4 separate regions of the Homo sapiens genome follow, and regions 1, 2 and 3 are each linked to region 4. The links are contacts of gene promoters, found by promoter capture Hi-C in blood cells and fetal thymus (Javierre and others, 2016). All regions are on one chromosome and are shown on one strand. Each heading gives the region's core, a stretch centred on a gene start or on the middle of the fragment in contact. The rest is flanking DNA. Distances are from core to core; before and after follow the strand shown. Region 1 holds the start of R3HDM2 (R3H domain containing 2). Region 2 holds the start of LRP1-AS (LRP1 antisense RNA). Region 3 overlaps SARNP (SAP domain containing ribonucleoprotein). Region 4 holds the start of BAZ2A (bromodomain adjacent to zinc finger domain 2A).

The links. Contacts are between HindIII fragments. The CHiCAGO score rates a contact against its expected background, and 5 or more counts as called.
Region 1: a contact is called between the fragment with the promoter of R3HDM2 here and the fragment with the promoter of BAZ2A in region 4, in 12 of 17 cell types (total CD4 T cells, activated CD4 T cells, non-activated CD4 T cells and 9 more). The highest score is 11.2, in total CD4 T cells.
Region 2: a contact is called between the fragment with the promoter of LRP1-AS here and the fragment with the promoter of BAZ2A in region 4, in 2 of 17 cell types (M1 macrophages and M0 macrophages). The highest score is 6.6, in M1 macrophages.
Region 3: a contact is called between a fragment that was not itself captured here and the fragment with the promoter of BAZ2A in region 4, in 1 of 17 cell types (total CD8 T cells). The highest score is 5.3, in total CD8 T cells.

What each region holds. Positions count from the first base shown.
Region 1 is chr12:57,429,690-57,432,389 of GRCh38, forward strand. R3HDM2 (R3H domain containing 2) reads right to left here and starts at 1,354. Exons shown (of 24, transcript NM_001394031.1): 1 at 1,031-1,354. It overlaps R3HDM2-DT (R3HDM2 divergent transcript), which reads left to right and starts at 1,427. Exons shown (of 2, transcript NR_185976.1): 1 at 1,427-1,741. RefSeq lists an enhancer at 496-605 and a silencer at 786-1,255. The HindIII fragment of the contact is 10,065 bases long and covers 1-2,700 here.
Region 2 is chr12:57,146,340-57,149,039 of GRCh38, forward strand. It overlaps LRP1-AS (LRP1 antisense RNA), which reads right to left and starts at 1,280. Exons shown (of 2, transcript NR_131938.2): 1 at 1,100-1,280. The region is part of intron 6 of LRP1 (LDL receptor related protein 1); the gene reads left to right. RefSeq lists enhancers at 1-822, 2,680-2,700. The HindIII fragment of the contact is 5,560 bases long and covers 1-1,814 here.
Region 3 is chr12:55,813,544-55,816,243 of GRCh38, forward strand. The region is part of intron 1 of SARNP (SAP domain containing ribonucleoprotein); the gene reads right to left. Among named protein-coding and RNA genes, the nearest start is that of SARNP, 2.8 kb to the right of the region's middle. The HindIII fragment of the contact is 3,247 bases long and covers 1-2,700 here.
Region 4 is chr12:56,628,968-56,631,667 of GRCh38, forward strand. It overlaps BAZ2A (bromodomain adjacent to zinc finger domain 2A), which reads right to left and starts at 1,359. Exons shown (of 29, transcript NM_001300905.2): 1 at 1,158-1,359. RefSeq lists a silencer at 946-1,295 and enhancers at 1,516-1,565, 1,596-1,665. The HindIII fragment of the contact is 7,835 bases long and covers 116-2,700 here.

The DNA of each region.
Region 1 (2,700 bases), core at 104-2,603, 800 kb after region 4:
GTGACAGACTGAGACCCTGTCTCAAAAAACAAAATACAACCTTTTGTCTTGATACCCCAGCAACAAAAAGGGGGGCGGGGGTGGGGGGGGAATATTGGTGGAACAACAACAAAAAAAAGCATTAGGAAGAAGAGCCACAAATAATTCAACTGCAAATCTATCTAAAAATACAAGAAAATGCTAGGAATTTGTGATATTCCTGAAGTGAAACCTGTCACTTTCCTCCTTCCTTGAGTCTCCACGTGGCTTACGCATATCAGACAGGACTCAGGCTTCTCAATCTTAGTTATCTATTTGAACAACATTATGTACAAGGATATTCATCCAACTGGGATCTGAATTCAAACTTTTCCACTTTTCTTTCTTCCGTTTTAACGCAGTTCTGGGATTGTTATTCGGTCATTTCTCATCATTATCCAATGACAATTCACTCTAAGTCAGTATTCCTGGTAGTTCCGAGACTTAATGGCCACAAATGTTGAAAAATGTTAGCTCTACGGGAAAACGAATCGAAGCGTTTTCAGGGGCTCGAGTAGTTATGAGCTTAGTGTAGGCCCAAGTTTTAAGCTATAGAAACATCTCCCTGTATGTGCCAACTCAAATCCCCGTCCCTGTAAGAAACCTGGACACCAGCATGATTTTAAACACTTCTACACCTCTCCGTCCTATTTTTCCATGCTCCACGCTCGAAGGAAAACCGCCACCCAAGAAACACACGGAGCTAGCCACCCCGAAGCACTGGAAGGGCGCAATAGTTTTTAGGTCACCCCGCAAAGGCCACAGGTGGCGCCACCCCCCTGCCCCCGCACCGCCGCCCTCCGCCCCGCGCCCCCAGCTTCTCTCCAGCAGCGCACACTTGGAGCAGTCCTTCCCGCGGCCATCCGACCCTGACCCATCGTCCCCGGGACCGGCTGCCGGGCGCGAGGAACCCAGGCCGCGGGGCCTCCTCGCGCCCGCCCGTGCGGCCGCCACGCCCCCTCCCCACAGGCCGTCCGGGCCGCCCGCCCCCTCGGCCGGGAGGTGGCCTCACCTCGCACGGGCCTTGGCGGGGAGGGCGCCCACGTCTCCGCCCGCCGCCCGGGCCCACGGCCGCTCGGCTGCGGCTCGGCCCCGACGGCCGGCGGCGGCGCGCTTCTGGGGGCGGGCTTTTCTCGGCCGGGGCTTCCCCGGGGCCGAGGGCTGGGAAGCAGGGGGGACTGGGACGGGGGAGGGGAAAGGGGCTTGGGAAGGAGGGGGGAGAGGGGAAGAAAAGGGGGGAACCAAACCCGGAAAGGGAGAAAAGGGGGGAGGGGAAAATCAGAAGGGGAAGAAAAGCCCAGAGTCCGCCCCCCGCTGCGGCTGCGCGCTACGTCACTACGTCCGGCGTTGTCGTCACCTCGTCCTGCGTTCCGGCCGTCCCTGCTTCCTGGCTTCCCGCGTGCCCCTCAGCAGCCCTGCGGGGCCTACCGCCTGCCGCACGCACTCCCGCCGGCGCGCGCGCACTCGCACTCGCTCGCTCGCCCTCTCCTCCTTCCGCGTTACCTGTGTCAGGACACCAATCCGGAGTCACTGGGAGCCTCGGTCCTCCTTAAACCCTTCAAGTCTGTCAGATAGAATACCCTGGATTTCAATATAATACTAATAGTGATCATTCTAAAGTAATTTCCATTTACAGAGCACTTTCACTTAGGGCAGTAACTCCTGTACCAAAAGAACGTACACTCGGTATTTGTTGCATACGTGGATAACTATAGTTGAGCAGGTAAATGTCCATTTTACGTAAAGATGAAAAAAACCGACCTAGGAGGAACTCAGTCTGTCCTATTAAGATCACATTCTTACCATCATCCCCTCTCTAAGATACAGTTCTCAAAAATCGTCTTAAATGTCCAGCCTCCCCCGTTTTGTCCATTCTAGGCAGAATCAATTTAGTTATTGATTATGTGTGTGTGGATAATTTACTGACCAAACTCCCTCAAAGAAGCAATGTAGTCTTTTGTAGAATTCGACCATTAAATATTTACCTTGTGACAGAAACTGCGGTAGGCAAAAAAAGTCAAATAATTATAGTACAATTTAAGTGCTATAATAGAAAGGTTTAAATGTGCTATGGAAACACAAGGAACAGCAATTCGTTCTTAGCGGTAAAAGAGATTGAGTAAGTTACAGAGAAACTACAGGTGAAACTCCAGCTAATCTTGAGACTATAAATAGTTCACTAGAGAGGTAAGAATGGAGATTCCAGCAAAGTCATAGAGGCATGAAGTTCATCTTTCCTTCAAGGATGAGCAAGTTCCAGGTTGGTTGGCGTTTTTTGTTTGTTTGTTTGTTTGTTTTATTTATTTTGAGATGGGGTCTCGCTTTGTCACCCAGGCAACTAGATTGCAGTGGTGCAATGTCGGTTCACTACAACCTTCACCTCTCAGGTTCAAGTGATTCTCCTGCCTCAGCGTCCGGAGTAGCTGGGACTACAGGCACGCACCATCACACCCGGCTATTTTTTGTATTTTTAGTAGAGACGGGGTTTTGCCATGTTGGCCAGGCTAATCTCGAACTCCTGGCCTCAGGTGATCCACCCGCCTCGGCCTTCCAAAGTTCTGGGATTACAGGTGTGAGCCACCTTGCCCAGCCCTCTCTCCTGGTCATCACTGCCTCCTGCCCCCAAATTCTCTCAACCCTCTAGAGAACAACAACGGGGGAAGAAAAATACAACTGAACTGA
Region 2 (2,700 bases), core at 30-2,529, 520 kb after region 4:
TTAGTAAACCAGAATTCCCATCTCTGCCTTGGTTTCCTAATCTGCATAATGGGTTTGAGCTTGTCTGTCTAGATCAGATTAACTGGAGTGAAAGCCAGTGGTAAAGGACAGCACACTTTGAAGTTGAGGATTGTGAACCTTGGGCCTCTCTAGAAGATCTTCAAGTTTCTTTATTTGGTTCTTGTGATGAAAAGAAAGATCCCAGGAGGTTACAAGGGATTCATTCTGGGAGAGAGAAAGGCCCCTCCCCGGGATGGTGGCGAGCAGGGGTTCCTCTGAGAGCCCTCACTCTCCGTGGCCTCAGCGTAAGGTTCACATTTCTGCCTTTGGCTCCTCCAGAGCATCCCTGATAGCGTCCTTGGGCTGCTGCTGTCCACAGCTCACCTGTGATCAGACATGTGTCCTCCTTGGGGTGCTGAGCTGGGGGCTGTCAAGCCTGGTTGGCTGAGCTCTTAACGAGTGGGCGACTCAGGGAACCCCATGGCTGATGGGGTGGGATTGGTGCTAGACCCTCTTGTGCAGCTGCCCTCCCCCTGTTCCTTGTCCACTGACCTACTCAACAGGCCTGTCTGGGCAGACAGCTTGTCAGTTTCCTCCCCAGCCCTGCATCTTGCCATACAGTGGGCTTCTGGGTAGGTGGCTATGGGGTGTCCTGGAGGTAACCTTCTCAACTTCTACTCTGGCCTCATCTCCTTATCTGACTTCCTCCCCAGGAGAAGCTGGTACCCCTCCCTTGGCAAACAGATTTGCCTTGCCTCCCAGTCTGCTAAACTCACTGGGCCTCTCAGGGGCAGAGTCCAGGAGGCTAGAAGAGTCCAAGGGGAAATGCTTGTGGGGTAAATGAGTGGGTTTCTCTCATCCCAGCTTCTGTCCCTTCCTCCCTGCCCTCCCCCTGCTCCACGTCCCTGCCGCCTGAATGTCTGGCTGTCACCCTGAGGATGGTTGTTTTGCTCTCTCCCACAAACTAATTATGGGTCCCAAACTGAGGACGTCAGTGTCTCTCCCCTAGCCCCTCCCCCAGTTTCTGGGTCATCCCCCTCCCCAGGAGATGCTGACTGGCCTGCCCTGGTGTGTAGGGTGGCTGGTCCCAGGCACTCACCTGCACAGTGGCTGCTGGCCTGTAATTAGCTCCCCAAGGAGGACGAAGAAGAAAGGCTGCAGCTTTCCCCTGCTTTCACTCTGCCCTCCAGGGCAGCCCTCCCTGCAAGCCTTCCATTCTGTGCTGTGACTGTGACCTCTGTTGGACCCCTGGGGCTGAGCCTCATGCAGCAGGGGTGCACACAGAGGGAGGAGTCTGACAATTGAGGGGTGTTCGAGCCAGCGAGGCCAGCCCGCTGGTGCAGGCAGAAGGGGGAGCCTGCCCCAGAGAAAACTCTGGAAGCAGAAATAGAATAGAAAGAAGGAAGGAGGCCAGGAAATGAGCCTGGTTCACATGTGTCCTGGGCCATGTGAGTCAGACCTGTTGTGGAGTCCTGAGAGCCCCCGAGGGCCCCCCTGAGGCCCTGCAGTGTGTGAACATTCCTCTTCAATGCCCCAGGGCTGCTGACCCTCCTGCCTCAGGCCCAGTGTTATCCCCCTGGATTGGGTGGGTCATCTCTTTTCCTCCCACCTGAGATTACCTCCCCCTCCCCTCTGCCGCTGGCCCAGTGGTTTGGGGAGGTCTATGAGGCTCGAATTCCAAGACCAGAGAACTCCATGGTGAGAGCCGGAAGAGAAGGCAAGACCCTTGGCCAGTACCAAGAGCAGCCCTGGCTTTCACTACTGCTTTCTCAAAGGGGCTATGCATTGATTTGATTTTAGATGGTACCTGGACAAGCTTTTTTTTTTTTTTTTTAACTGTTATAGTTACGTTTTTATTTGATATGCATTAGGAAACTCCTGTAACTAGCACATCAAATCTGTTACTTCAGCAATTGTTTAGCATGCAGCGAAATAAGAAAAGTAAGTTAATTGAAATAACTGGTAATAAACAGTAGCGCAAGCTGTACATAAGCATGGTAGACATTTTGAAAGTGATACACAAAAGACTAAAGTTCTGAAAATTGAGGCCCAGAGGGATCAACAGGCCTGATAGTCCCTTAGTCAGGAACCAGGCCTGCGCACTCTCACCCCCACCTCTGACCAGTCTCTCAGCTCCAGAGGCCTATGGAGCCTGTAACCCAGCTTTGTCCAGCCTCCTGCCAGGCTGCCCCTGGGCAGGCCTGGTGGTGCAGTCTACCGACCCCAGCCCAGCCCTGCATTTCCTAAGCTGAGCTCCTCTGATCTGTATTCCCTTCACCTTGGAGGATGCCACCACTGTAGAAAGAATGAGGCAGACTGCAAGATTGGGGTCCTGGGAACATGGGTGTGTATGGTGAGGGGAGGTTCTGAGGTTGTAAATAGAGGCCTTGAAGGAAATCGGGTTTGCTGAAGTCACTCAGGAGTTTGGACTGTGTGTGAAAGGATGGTCTGAAGGGGCTCTCAGAGGTCTCAGGGTTCCCCTCCCTGCACCATGCTGCATGGGGAAGAAGGAGGTGGCTGGGGAGCTCAGCAAAGGGCCCCTAGGCTGCAGGCAGCAAGGTTGCGAAATGGGTCCCAGGTCCAGCTGGCCAACTTCACTTTTCCCTTCCTCTCCCTTTCTTTTATTTATTTATTTTTTTAGTGTGTGTGTTTTCGAAATCACAACAGGAAATGGGGTAGTGATTTGTCTAGAGGGGAGGC
Region 3 (2,700 bases), core at 160-2,659, 820 kb before region 4:
TTTTTTTTTTTTTTTTTTGAGACGGAGTTTCACTTTTGTTGCCCAGGCTGGAGTGCAATGGTGCCATATCGGCTCACCGCAACCTCCACCTACGCGGTTCAAGTGATTCTCCTGCCTCAGCCCCCCGAGTAGCTGGGATTACAGGCATGTGCCATCACGCCCAGCTAATTTTGTATTTTTAATAGTGACGGGGTTTCTCCATGTTGGTCAGGCTGGTCTCGAACTCTCGACCTCAGGTGATCCGCCTGCCTCGGCCTCCCAAAGTACTGGGATTACAAGCGTGAGCCACTGCACCCAGCCTGCTTGGATTTAATATACAACATTTTAGCTGTGCAACCTAAGGCAAGTTACTCAGTTACTCTCTCTGAGCTATGGTTTTTCTTATTTTCAAATGAGGATAATACAGGTATTTACCTTACAGGGTTATTATGAGAATTAAATCAGTTAGTGTATGTAAATGGCTTCAAACAGTGCTTTGCCACATAACAAATGCTAAGTGTTGGCAATTGATGAAGCATTCTGAAGAAATTAAATAAAATAAGGCCACAGTAGTTGAAGAGTTAGTAACTATGCTGGAGAGACGGGCAGGGATATAATTTAAAGGTTTTAAGCAGGGGAATGACTCCTATAATAAATATCTAAGTGGTGAAATCGCTCCCCCTACAAATCCCATCCGCCAAGAGAATACAAGCTGATCACATCAAGCTCCTCCTTTCAAACTTCCAAAGGCTCCCAGCCCTACTTCTTACATGACAAAGGCCAGAAGTCCTTACATAACTTAGAAAGCCCTTTTCAATATCACTCTGATTTACCTTTATAGTTTACCTATTTTCCTTTCCAAACTATCTTCAACTACCAATATATTTCCTCACTTCACTTTTCAATACAAATGTCTCACTATTCTCAACACTCTGACACTACTATCACTTTCTCCTCTCCTCTGCAATAGTTCCTTTTCTAATGTTTGACTGGATATCTGATACTGTTACAGTTCAAGCCATTTTCATCCACAGTTCAATCTCTCTTTCCAAATGTGTTAGTATGGGCCAGGAGTGGTGGCTCATGCCTATAATCCCAGCACTTTGGGAGGCCAAGGCAAGAGGATCACCTGAGGTCAGTCAAGTCCAGCCGGACCAATAACATGGTGAAACCCCATCTCTACTAAAAATACAAAAATTAGCCAGGCATGGTGGCACGTGCCTGTAATCCCAGCTACTCGGGAAGCTGAGGCACGGGAATTGCTTGAACCTGGAAGGCGGAGGTTGCAGCGAGCCGAGATCTTGCCACTGCACTCCAACCTGGGCGACAGAGCGAGACTCCATCTCAATTTAAAAAAAAAAAAAAAAGAATGACTGCATTTCTACAAAATCCTCAGAAATTTGCTGTTGATATGACATTACATATCAACTCAGATACATACTATGTTTCCTTCCTGCTTCAAAAGGTATTCCCTTCCCCTGAGGTTCCATACCAAAGCCCAAAATTCTCTTTATGACAATGGAGAGATTTTTTTATTTTCTTTTTTTTGAGACAAGGTCTCCCTTTGTCACCCAGGCTGAAGTGCAGTGGAGCAATTATCACACAGCTGACCACAGCCTTGGCCTCCCAGGCTCAAGCAATCCTCCCACTTCAGCCTCCTGAGGAGCTGGGACTACAGGTGTGTGCCACCATGCCCAGCTAATTTTTTAATTTTTTTTGTAGAGACAGGGTCTCACTATGTTACCTAAGCTGGTCTCAAACTCCTGGCCTCCGCCTCCCAAAGAGTTGGGATTACAGGTGTGGGTCACTGCACCCAGCCAAGATTTTTTTTTAAGGCAATAAAACCCCAAGTCAACCCAGAAGTCAGGATCATTGCATCAAGATCACCAGTGGAACCAAACATTAATTGTCCTAAAAATCAGAATCAAAGGCATGAGTTCTTTTTTTCTTTTTGAGACGGAGTCTCACTGTCCCCCAGGCTGGAGTGCAGTACACCATCTCGGCTCACTGCAACCTCCAACCCGGGCTCAAGCGATTCTTGTGCCTCAGCCTCCTCACAGCCTCCTCAATAGCTGGGACTACAGGCACTTGCCACCACACCTGGCTAATTTTTGCATTTTTGGTAGAGGCGGGGTTTCGCCATGTTGCCCAGGCTGGTCTCGAACTCCTGGCCTCAAGCAATCCGCCCGCCTAGGCCTCCCAAAGTGCTAGGATTACAGACGTGAGCCACCACGCCCAGCTAAAGGCATGAGTTCTTAACCAGAGGTCCATGGACTCCTCGGGGCTACAAGGTAGTTTTATGAAGCCCCTCAAACTGCATGCAAAATATGTGTACATGCCTTTTTCTGGGGAGAGGGTCCATACCTTTCATCAGAGTTTCAAAGATATCTGTGACCTCCAAAAGGTTAAGAAGTGCTCTAGAGAAAAAGCAAAGACAAGCAAATGTGATTAAAGAGCAAGTCCTTTTTAGGCTGTCAGGAGTGCCTAATGTTCTCTTAGACTGTAACACTGAAATCAGGTCAGAGGACTTTACGTAAAAGTTACTTATCCAATCAAATACAAATTTTATATAGACCTGACAAATACAGATTTGATGGAAGGAGGAACTCCATAAACCAACACAATCTATAAATGCAAGTAAGTCATCGGGCAGCTGGTGACTTACTCCAGGGATTTCAAAAATAGGACAAATAGGAAGAAAATATTAGCTCTTCTATATAT
Region 4 (2,700 bases), core at 109-2,608:
AGAAGGGATTGGGATACGTGAGTCAACTGAAGTTGACTACTTCCAGTTGACAAGTTTACAAAAAAAAAAAAAGTCCAACGAAAGGTCTCTCGGGCCACATGGTTGGCAAGATCCAAGCTTGCCCAGAAGGCTTCAGAAAATGAAACCAAATCTGATTAAAATGGACATTTCAAAACAACAAGACACGCAGCAGCAAACGCACAGCTGCCATTTCCCGGCCACTTCCTGCGGGAGGCTGGGGGAGGGGCTGTTTGTGTACAGATAGAGGTGGAAAGCTATCCCCTCCGTCGTCCCCCAAAGCAGACAAATCTCTCACTCCAATTAACCCTACAAAGGACAACTGCTATTGACATTGCCTTCTCCTGAAAACTGGGAACACCGGGAAAGAAAGGGATGATGCGGTATCATCTTTCTGCCACGGAAGCGGGGATCCCCTCAGTGAGGAATCTCCTTGGAAAAAGGAATTCCTCTTTATTCTTCCCTTCTGCCCCTCAGCCCAGCTCAAATTGGAAAGCCTCAGCGGAAGCCCTATCAACCTCCATCCCCGGAGTGCGCGATTCTCCCGGGACGCGAGGGCCCCAAGCCAAGCGCAGCACCACCCTCAGCAAGGAAGGCCCTCTCCTGATCTTCACGCTCAAGAGAATGGGTGCGCTCCCCGAGGGAGACACCCTCAGACCCCTGGAAACCCCTTCCGCCCTCCACTCACCACAGTCAAAACGCCCAGCTCCCCGCAAACGGAGCGTTTTAACCCGCCAAGGGAACCCCCTCACCCACCCCTCGCGCTCAGGCAATCCCCACCCCCACCCGAGGAGGTGGAGCCCCTCCCGGGGATTCCACCCCAAGTCCCCCACAGGAGTCATCTCCACCAGCCAGGCGGCTTCTCCGCCTCCTCACTGTCGCCGGGAGCCCCTACAGCTCCTCCTGCCCCCGCGGCCCCGTCCGGGGTCCTCAGCAGCCCCACCAGCCCTGTTCTCCTCCCAGACCCCAGAGCAAGGAGACCCTCGCCTCGGGTTGGATCCTCGCAGGAAATAAGCTCCCGTCGGCTTCCCGCCCCGGCAAGGCTCAAGCCGGCTCTGGAGCTTCTGTTCCCCGAGGGAAGCCTCGGATGAAAGCGGGGCTCCCTCCCCCTCAGGCCCCTGGCCACAGACCCCACAAACCTGAGGCAGCGGCGTCCAGCCGGGCTCGGGGCTCGTCTCTCCCCGGGGTACAAGCGGTTCACATGGCCGCGCTCCGGGCGCCAGAACGGGTGGAGACGCCCGCTGGGGAGGGGGTCTGGGGTCCGGGGTTCGGGAAGGGGGAGGGGGACGCGGCTCAACCGCGGGGCCCGAGAGGAGCCAACATGGCCGGCGGGGGAGGAGTGAGTCGGAGCCGGAGGGGGCGGAGAAGCCTCGGCCGGGAGAGAGTCTCCCCACGCGGCCTCCGCCACAGGGTCCTAAAGCCCGCCAGCCCATCTTTCCGACCCGGACCTGGGTCCTAGCGCCGCTGTGCCTCCTGCAACTCTGGCCACCTTGCCCACCTGGCAGCTCCCTCTGCACCCGCATCTCATGGAGGCAGTGGTCCTGCTTCACACAGGGCAAACTGAAAGGCATGCCACAGTCCCAAGGTTAACTTAAAAGACTAGACCAAACGTCTAGGCCCAAAGGCAGGTGCCACTTCTCTAACAGGCTGGTAGGGGTAAGAGTCAGGGGAATTTCGGGGGCAGTTATTTCCCAGGTAGGGTAATGGAAACGTGGAAATAGAAAGGTTAGTCACTCAGGTCGCGATTCAGTAAAGGGATGGGGAGAGGCAAGAGTCAGCCACCCACTCACCTCTGTCCCTTCAGTGCAGCCTGGTCCTGCCTGGATCACCACTTTCCTGGCGACATCTGCAGGGCCCTGGTCACCGGAAAGGAAAGATTCCTGTGCGTGGGGGAAAGAAGGTTCGGCTCTGGAACCAGACAGCAAAGACCTGAGTGTAGCCTAAATGCAGTCAGAGAAGTAAAGGATAAGCTGAAAACTAATCAGCAAAAAGATGCCACAAATGTCCACCCATTCTATGGTTCTGGGAATTTTTTTCTGACAGGGCTACATAACTGTGTGAAAACTCAGAAAAGTAAAATCTAGCAGAGGACTAGAGTTTGGCTGTCACCTAAAATGTCCACTGCAGGGCACCAGGATGAAGAACAGTGTCATATGATGTTAGAGCTTAGAGAATTTCTAGTTCAGGCCGGACGCGGTGGCTCACGGCTGTAATCCCAGCACTTTGGGAGGCCGAGGCAGGTGGATCATGATGTCAGGAGTTCAAGACCAGCCTGACCAACATGATGAAACCCGGTCTCTACTAAAAATACAAAAATTAGCTGGGTGTGGTGGCGTGCCCCTGTAATCTCAGCTACTCAGGAGGCCGAGGCAAGAGAATCGCTTGAACCTGGGAGGTGGAGGTTGCAGTGAACTGAGATCGCGCCATTGCACTCCAGCCTGGGTGACAGAGGGAGACTCTATCTCAAAAAAAAAAAAAAAAAAAAATTCTAGTTCAACCTTCTCTCCTTCATCAAATGAAGAAATTAAGACCCAAAGAGGTTCAATGACTTCTTCAATGTCAAACAGTGGATAAAATATGACAAGAAAGGAAACCAGGTTTCCTTTCCTTGCAACTCAACACTTTGCAGCCTTGAAGATAATTCCCATTTAATTCAATGCAATGCAGTTCTAGAAACAGTTG